Regions from separate parts of the Homo sapiens genome. Here region 1 is linked to region 2. Evidence: promoter capture Hi-C in 16 types of primary human blood cells and fetal thymus (Javierre and others, 2016). All regions are on one chromosome and are shown on one strand. The core of a region is centred on a gene start or on the middle of the fragment in contact, and the rest is flanking DNA. Distances in the headings are between cores, read along the strand shown. Region 1 overlaps AFG2B (AAA ATPase AFG2B). Region 2 holds the start of FEM1B (fem-1 homolog B).

Region 1 (3,789 bases), core at 620-3,119, about 23 Mb before region 2:
GCTGCTGGACGGCGCCAGTGGGGACCGCGAGGTCGTGGTTGTGGGAGCCACTAACCGGCCGGACGCTCTAGACCCAGCGCTGCGTAGGCCCGGGAGATTTGACCGAGAGGTGAATGGGCTTGGCGGGTTTGCCCACTGTCGGTGGAACCTCGGCCGCTTCTGGCGCCATTTGGCTGCCCCGGAGGCGTTTGCCTCTTAGGTTTGAGCATCGGTGAGGTTGGAGTTGGGGCTCTTTGCAATGCAGAGAACACGTTCTCTGCCGATATATGATCTGTGAGTCAGGACCTGTATTTCCCCAGAGTCAAATTGTCAGGACCTGTGAGTCAGGATCTGAGAGTCAGGACCTGTTTCCCCAGAGTCTAATTGTTTTGGGAAGCGAGGTGTCCATTACAGATTAATTTTGTTGTGCAGGTCCTATAATCAGTAATGTTAATTCTTAAGAGAATTTTGGTCACCTACAAGCGTGTTAAACTCATTTTTTGGAATGAGAATTTAAAGAAGGATAGCCTCAAGAAGTAAGTGTGTTGAAATAAAAAGGGAGAAGGTGGGGAAGAACTAAATGGAAGCAGGCATTAACTCTTCTGGATTTATTCATTCCTTGTCATAACACCAGCATCCTATTCCACAATTGAGGAGGTACCCACAACTGCTCCCTGAGTTGTCAGGGAGGTTGAATATTCAGAGCTGTCCTATTTTAAGCTTTGGTCCTAAATTGACTTGAATTCTAAAGAACAGTTTGAAATTTAGTGACTGATATTTCTATTTTGTGATAGGATTCAAAAGAGAAATGATAATTACACACTTTTAGCTCAGTTAGTTCAGGACTTGAGTGGATTTCTTCCTTGCACTATCTAGTACCTGTGTCCTTAAGGGCAGGGACCTAGCTATCTATACCTGGCTTCTAGAACTTTGTGTGTTCTTAAAAATAACAAAAACTTGTTAAATGACATAGAATTTTCATTGTGCAACTTTCTAGCCAGTGTTACTCCTCTGGAATATTAGGATTTTCGTATATTCAGAATCTAAAGTATACGTAAAGTGCACGGTACTAGTTCCAAAGTGGTTCACTAAATTGTCGTACATGTTTGTCAGGATAAAAAACATATTATTATTTTGGCCGGGCGCGGTGGCTCACGCCTGCAATCTCAATACTTTGGGAGGCTGAGGTGGGTGGATCACCTGAGGTCAGGAGTTCGAGACCAGCCTGGCCAAGATGGTGAAACCCCGTCTCTGCTAAAAATACAAAAAATAAGCCGGGCATGGTGGCACATGCCTGTAGTTCTAGCTACTCTGGAGGCTGAGGCACCAGAATCACTTGAACCAGGAGGTGGAGGTTGCAGTGAGCTGAGATGGTGCCCGCTGCACTCCAGACTGGGCAGCAGAGTGAAACTGTGTCTCAAAAAAAAAAAAAAAAGAAAAAAAAAATATATATATGTATACACACACATATATAAAATTTTTTTGGAAGTAATTCTTTTTTAATTGATCTATTTTTATTGATACATAATTGTGCATGTTTTGGGGTACATGTGATATTTTGGTACATGCATACAATTTGTAATTATCAAATCAGGGTGCTTAGGATATCCATCACCTCAAACATTTATCATTTCTTATCTGAGTGTTGGGAATATTTCAGATTCTCTCTAGTAGCTATTTTGAAATATACGAGAAATTATTGTTAACTATAGTCACCCTACTACACTATCAAACATTACACATATTCCTTCTACCTAACTGTATGTTTGTACCCATGAGCCAACCTGTCTTCATCCCCTCACCCCCAACCCTTCCCAGTGTCTGGTTGCTATCATTCTGCTGTCTACCTCCATCCATGAGATCAACTTTAAAAATAATATATTTTAAACTATATACTTCTTCTTCTTTTTTTTGTTTTGCTTTGCATATAGGTGGTCATTGGGACTCCCACACTTAAACAAAGAAAGGAAATTCTGCAAGTGATTACCTCGAAGATGCCCATCTCCAGTCATGTTGATTTGGGCCTTCTTGCAGAAATGACAGTTGGCTATGTTGGTGCCGACCTGACAGCACTCTGTAGGGAGGCTGCCATGCATGCCCTCCTTCATAGTGAGAAGGTAAGAAGTGTTAATTTATGAACATCTATGTTAATCTATTATTGTAACAGATTAATTTGGGGGTTAAAAAAAAGCGGTGAGTACATTTTCCTTAGAACATTTGATAGCTTCCACAGCTGTTGCTTATACATTTTACATCTCAACTCTATATAAATAGTATATGATTGAGGGTGGGGATAAAGGGCTGAGTCCTCTGGGTCTACTGAGTGAATTTGTTCCCTACTCTTATAGTAACTCCCTAGTGCTGAAGCCCAGAGCAGCCAAGAAATAGTGTGGCCCCAGAAGAATCAAAGAGTTTTTTTAATTTGAATTTTTTTATTTTGAGGCAATTTCAGACTTAGAAGTTACAAAAATAGTACAAAGAGTTTCCATATACCCTTCTCCTAGATTCTCCAAATGTAACATTTGCCACATTTGCTTTATCATTCTCTCTTCATGTGTATTTCCTTATATATATACATATATATAATGAAATATTTGAGCATATACTACATCCATGATGCCCCTTTACCCGCGAAAACGTAAGTGTATATTTCTGAAAAACAAGGACCTTAACCACAGTATGATGATCAAGCTGAGAAAATTAACGCAGACATAATACTTGTACTTAACCTAAATAGGCCTTAATCTAGAATCATACTTCAGGCTTTCTTCTATGAAAACATAACTTTTTAAGAGTCAGTTATTCTGTGGAATATTCGTCAGTTTGGGTTTGACTAATGTTTCTTCATGATTCAATTCAGGTTTTGCATTTTGGGCAGGAATATAATAGAAATGATCCTGTGTCTTTCTCATTGCATCTGTTAGGCAGCACATGATATGTTTCTGTTCTATCACTGGTGAAGTTAACTTTGATTTCTTGGTTAAGGTGGTGTCTGTGAGATTTCTCCATTGTCAAGATACCGTTTTTCCCTTTGTTATTAATAAGTATCTAGTGGGAGAAATAAGCTTTTCTAACCTAGGAGAAGATTGGGCACTTGGAATTGTATTTAAATTTGTCCTTGATCTGCAGGTCTGTAATTCATGACTATTTCCTAACAATATTTAAGATATTAGATTAAATATAATACTTTTCAACTTTGTTGGTTGTAAAATCCAGTATTTTGTATATAATAAATAGTCCTGAATCCTTAAACCCATTCAGGAAAAAACTGATTTCAGCAGGCTAAGGATTCTGAAACAGAGTTTTCAATCTCATTTGTAACATCAAAATTGTCTTTTCATCTTAAACTGCAAAAGAATGATTTATTATCCTAAATTTTGAAAAACCTTTTTACCTAAATAATTTATACCTTGCCTCACTTCCTTTCCTTTATTTCTACAGTTACACCGAAGGTGGGGAGGAGTTATGTGATCTTCTAGTTGATCTTTTAAGTCTTCATCTTGTAGGTTTAGACCAAAACTACTTGAAGTTTTAAAGTTCTGTGTGTAAAGATGTGAGAATAGATGTCTTTTGAGGGAGACAATAAGTAAGCAGGAGATGGGAAGGGAGATTTACATTCAGGATTTCCTCTGCTTTGAAGTTCCAGGTTTGACCATAAGCACCTCTCACTTAGGTGGACCAGTCAGCTGCTGTCGTCCCAGGGTGGAGCCCACTGCTACTTCAGGAGGGGCCTGCTCAGGTGTAGTTACCACAGGTGATGGCTGAGTTCAGAAACAACCCAGGGGAAGTGGAAGGAAGAAAGGCAAAAAG
Region 2 (3,904 bases), core at 180-2,679:
AGAATTTGAGAAGTGACCCACACCTCCACCAATAGCTGCAATGGAAGTGAGGCCTTTACCTCCTAGAATTGGAATGGTGGGGTTCAAATAAAATAATGTATGTGAACTTGTTGAGCCGAGCCCAGTCCCTTGGAGCCACATAAATGCATTTGTTCTTTCTCTATGGTAAATTTTGTCCTTTGGGGAAGGGAGGAAGAGGGAGGAAGTCACTTTCATATTGAGTTTTTTGAGACTGTCCCAGAAGCTTCATCACCTACCATTCACTCCTACCATCCTAATCCAAGGCCTGTCCCCCTATCTACTCTTGCCTTCCAGAGTTTATTCTCCATACAGCAGCCAGAGTGATCTTTTTAAAAAACACAAATAGCATCTTGTCACTTCCCTCTTTAAAACCCTTCAAATGCCCCCATCACAGAGTAGACTTAAACCCTTTGCTATGGGTTATTAGGCCCTAACGTGTGTTGCATCCTCTGACTTCATCTATCATTCTTACTGTGGCCCACTCTGCTGCAGCCACACTGACCTTTCTGTTTCCGAGCTCACCAGACTGTTCCCTCCTCAGGACTTTTATATTAGCTGTCCCCTTTGCCTAGAATACCGTCTGTTCTTGTCACTTGTCATAGAGGTCTTGTCTGATCACCCAAACTAAATGAGTGCCCCCATCATTCTATTTCATTTGCTTCAGAGCAAATGGTAATGATACCAGTTCAACTGATCTTGTCTATCATTTGTTGACTTATTTGTTCCATTACTGAATCCCTAGTGCTAAGCAGAGCCTGGCACGTAGTCGACCTCTAATATTCATTGGATAAACGATCGTTTCAAATCCTAACAACAATCTTGTGATGTCTGTGAGAAAACGGAGGTTCTGCCGGCTCAGGATGAGATTCCTGCTCTGTCTGAACGCGGGACTCGCTTTCCTTCCCAGGATACCTCGCTCCTTCCACCGCGAGCGCAGCTCCCCTTCGCTCCCATCTTTCTCTCACACTTAACCCCTTTCTCCGGGAAAGTCAGGCCGTACTTCCAGTCCCTTCTCAGAGCCTGGTGTTGTGGCTCTCAAGCCCTCCCACATTTCGGGAACTCAGAAACGCCGCCCTTTTCCTGAAATGGACCCTCCGAGTACGCGCAACCCCTTCCCTAACCCCGGCTCAGGGGCAGAAGCAGGACCCGCACCGTCTATAGTAAAATAGGGTGGTCTCCTTAGCCCATCAGCTTAGCGCCCTCACTCCGCCCCCACTCCCTGGCTGGAGACCCTCAGGGCCGTTTAGGGGCCAGGAGGAGGTTCCAGGAGTCAAGGACATTGAGGACATCCAGGCCCAAACGGGATGGGCCAACTACGCGCAGCAGAACCTTTCTCTACCGGGCCCGCGTGTGCCCGCCGGTCGGCTTAGGCGGAGACACCCCACTTAGCGTCCCTCCCGCTCCCGCCCTCTCCTCCCGGCCCTGTCTGCGAAAGCTCGTCTTCCTCCCCGCCCAAGTTCCGGCGCCGCTCTTGCGGGAGCGTTCCGCATCGCCCCGGGGGCCCCTACGCGAGGATCTCCGGGGCCGTTGGCAGCGCCTGGCACTTCTGAGCTCGGCGGACGAGAGCCTGCAGGTTTCCTCCAGTCAGGGACGGCGAAGGGCGGAAAGCGCAGGAGGAGGCAGTGTTAGGCCTTAGGCCGGGTGGGCCGGGTCAGGAGAGACGCGCCCATCTTTCGCCATCCGGGGTGCGCGAGGTCCTCTCGGGACCCGGCCGGCGACCCGTAGCTCGGGCACGCGCCTGTCGCATCCCGCAGGAAGGAGGGGTCCGGCCTGAGGCCCGGGGCGGCGTCCGCCATGGAGATCCCCTCGGTCCAGGGCCGGCGCCTGGGACCTGGCGGGCGGCCCTGACCGCCTTCCTCCCTGCGCGGGCTGGGTCGCGGACGTGCCCTTCGCGGCACTCGGCCTCCTCTGCGTCTCCGCCTTCCCTGGGCCGCACTGCTGCCTGGGCGCGGCGGCGGCGACGGCGCCCTGTTGAATGGGCTGTGAGGGCCCAGGTTTAAAGCGCTGGCGAACGCGGCCTCCGGGGGCGCACGGCAGCTGCAGCGGTGGCGACCAAACGGGTGTTGGAGTTGGCGGCGGCCATGGAGGGCCTGGCTGGCTATGTATACAAGGCGGCCAGCGAGGGCAAGGTGCTGACTCTGGCCGCCTTGCTTCTCAACCGGTCTGAAAGCGACATCCGCTATCTGCTTGGCTATGTCAGCCAGCAGGGAGGGCAGCGCTCCACGCCCCTCATCATCGCAGCCCGCAATGGACACGCAAAGGTGGTACGCTTGCTCTTAGAACATTACCGGGTGCAGACTCAGCAGACTGGCACCGTCCGCTTCGACGGGTAGGTACATCCCAAGCCAGCCTCTCTCCGACGCGCGCGGACTCGTTAATTCACGGGCCCTCCCCTCCCTCACCCTCTCTTACCCTCTCTTCATGTAGGTACTCACTTCTCCCCTTTTTGTACCACCTCCTGCCCCACTAATGCCCACTTCATCTTCCAGGGCTAATAATCCATCCCATGTTTTGCTGCCCGTCCTCATCAGCCCCTACCCCTCATTCCCTCTGTGGGAAGATAACCACACCCTCGGCCTTGAAATCTAATAGTCGTCTTCTCTACTAGATAGTCTGTGAACAAGCCATTTGGAGGAGGTGGCTGCCTTTCCAGGTTTTACTTTTAGTGGAACTGGTGATGTAACTGATCAGAAATTAAGGAGGTCAGCGGTTAACATTGAAGAACTCCGAAAGAGTTATTTGGGCATCCATTTTTACTCCCTTCAAGTGAGTGGTTCCGTAAAACCTTCAGTGGGCTGCTGGGCTTTAATGTCAAAATAAGCACCTAGAACCAGCAGCAGCTGCAGCATCATGAGGGATTGTCACGCAGCCAGACATCTCAAGACATGATTCTGATTCCTCCACGTTGCTCGGTGTAGATATATTGGCTACTAAGATGGCATTGGACCTGATGTGGGAGATGATGCCATTCTTAAATTACATCTTATCCCGTGATGTTGTGGGGAAGCTTGATCATTTACTGTTAGTTGAGGTGGGAAGTTTAAAAATGCACATTGTTATGCCTAAGATTTGCCCTTTGAGTTTAATTGTACGAATTTTTGGGTATTTGACCAGAATTGTCAGGTTTGACATTATCCTCTTTTCTATGCTGGAGGATTATAACACGTTTTACAGATTACAACTGTATAACGATTTTGCTACATATGTTTTGGTTGACTTGTGGTAGTACATAAGCTATTTTAGCATTTTTTTTTTCTTTTGAAGTCAGTAGGGTCTGAGCATAAAAATATATATCTTTAGTTTTTGGTGATTAGAAACTGCCTGGCTAAAACTCGACTGAAAAAAACATTTCTTCTTTAAGATGACTAGGGAAATGTTCTGTTTCGGTTGATTCTTTTTTAGGTTTAAACAATAAAAGCTTTTTCTTCTATTTTAGATGAGTGGAAAATATTCATAGCATTACATCTTAATGAAATGGTAGCCCATGGGCAATGGCTTATATCACGGGTATCACCATTATACACATTAAGGAGATGTTTTTTTTCATGTTGACCAAAGATGGCAACCTGATTCATGTTTGCTTTTCCTTACTGGCTTTCGTGTCTTCTCTGTAACTCCTTGCATTCCCGCACCTAGAGAAGGAGTGAAGCACAGTGACCTCTGAACCTCCAGTACCGTTCCACCTGTATAGGCATATGAAGTCATTGAGATATGAATTTCTGTAATAACAGCTGCTTGGGAATACTGCTGCTGAGGCAATGTGCATAAGGGAGAATAGTGGGGAGAAAAAAGAGTTAAGAATTTCGAAAGGTTTTGCTTATTGCCATCTTTTTCAGTCGTCAAAGAGATGTTTTGAGGTGGCAATTAAAAGAACCTGAAATGA

The links. Contacts are between HindIII fragments. The CHiCAGO score rates a contact against its expected background, and 5 or more counts as called.
Region 1: a fragment that was not itself captured here is called in contact with the fragment with the promoter of FEM1B in region 2 in 2 of 17 cell types (total CD4 T cells and naive CD4 T cells); the score reaches 5.9 in total CD4 T cells.

The regions. Positions count from the first base shown.
Region 1 is chr15:45,403,410-45,407,198 of GRCh38, forward strand. AFG2B (AAA ATPase AFG2B) reads left to right here. Exons shown (of 8, transcript NM_024063.3): 1 at 1-109; 2 at 1,911-2,096. Among named protein-coding and RNA genes, the nearest start is that of AFG2B, 3.0 kb to the left of the region's middle. The HindIII fragment of the contact is 2,345 bases long and covers 698-3,042 here.
Region 2 is chr15:68,276,316-68,280,219 of GRCh38, forward strand. FEM1B (fem-1 homolog B) reads left to right here and starts at 1,430. Exons shown (of 2, transcript NM_015322.5): 1 at 1,430-2,350. The coding sequence starts at 2,103. RefSeq lists enhancers at 1,426-2,327, 2,070-2,269 and a silencer at 1,710-2,039. The HindIII fragment of the contact is 2,784 bases long and covers 243-3,026 here.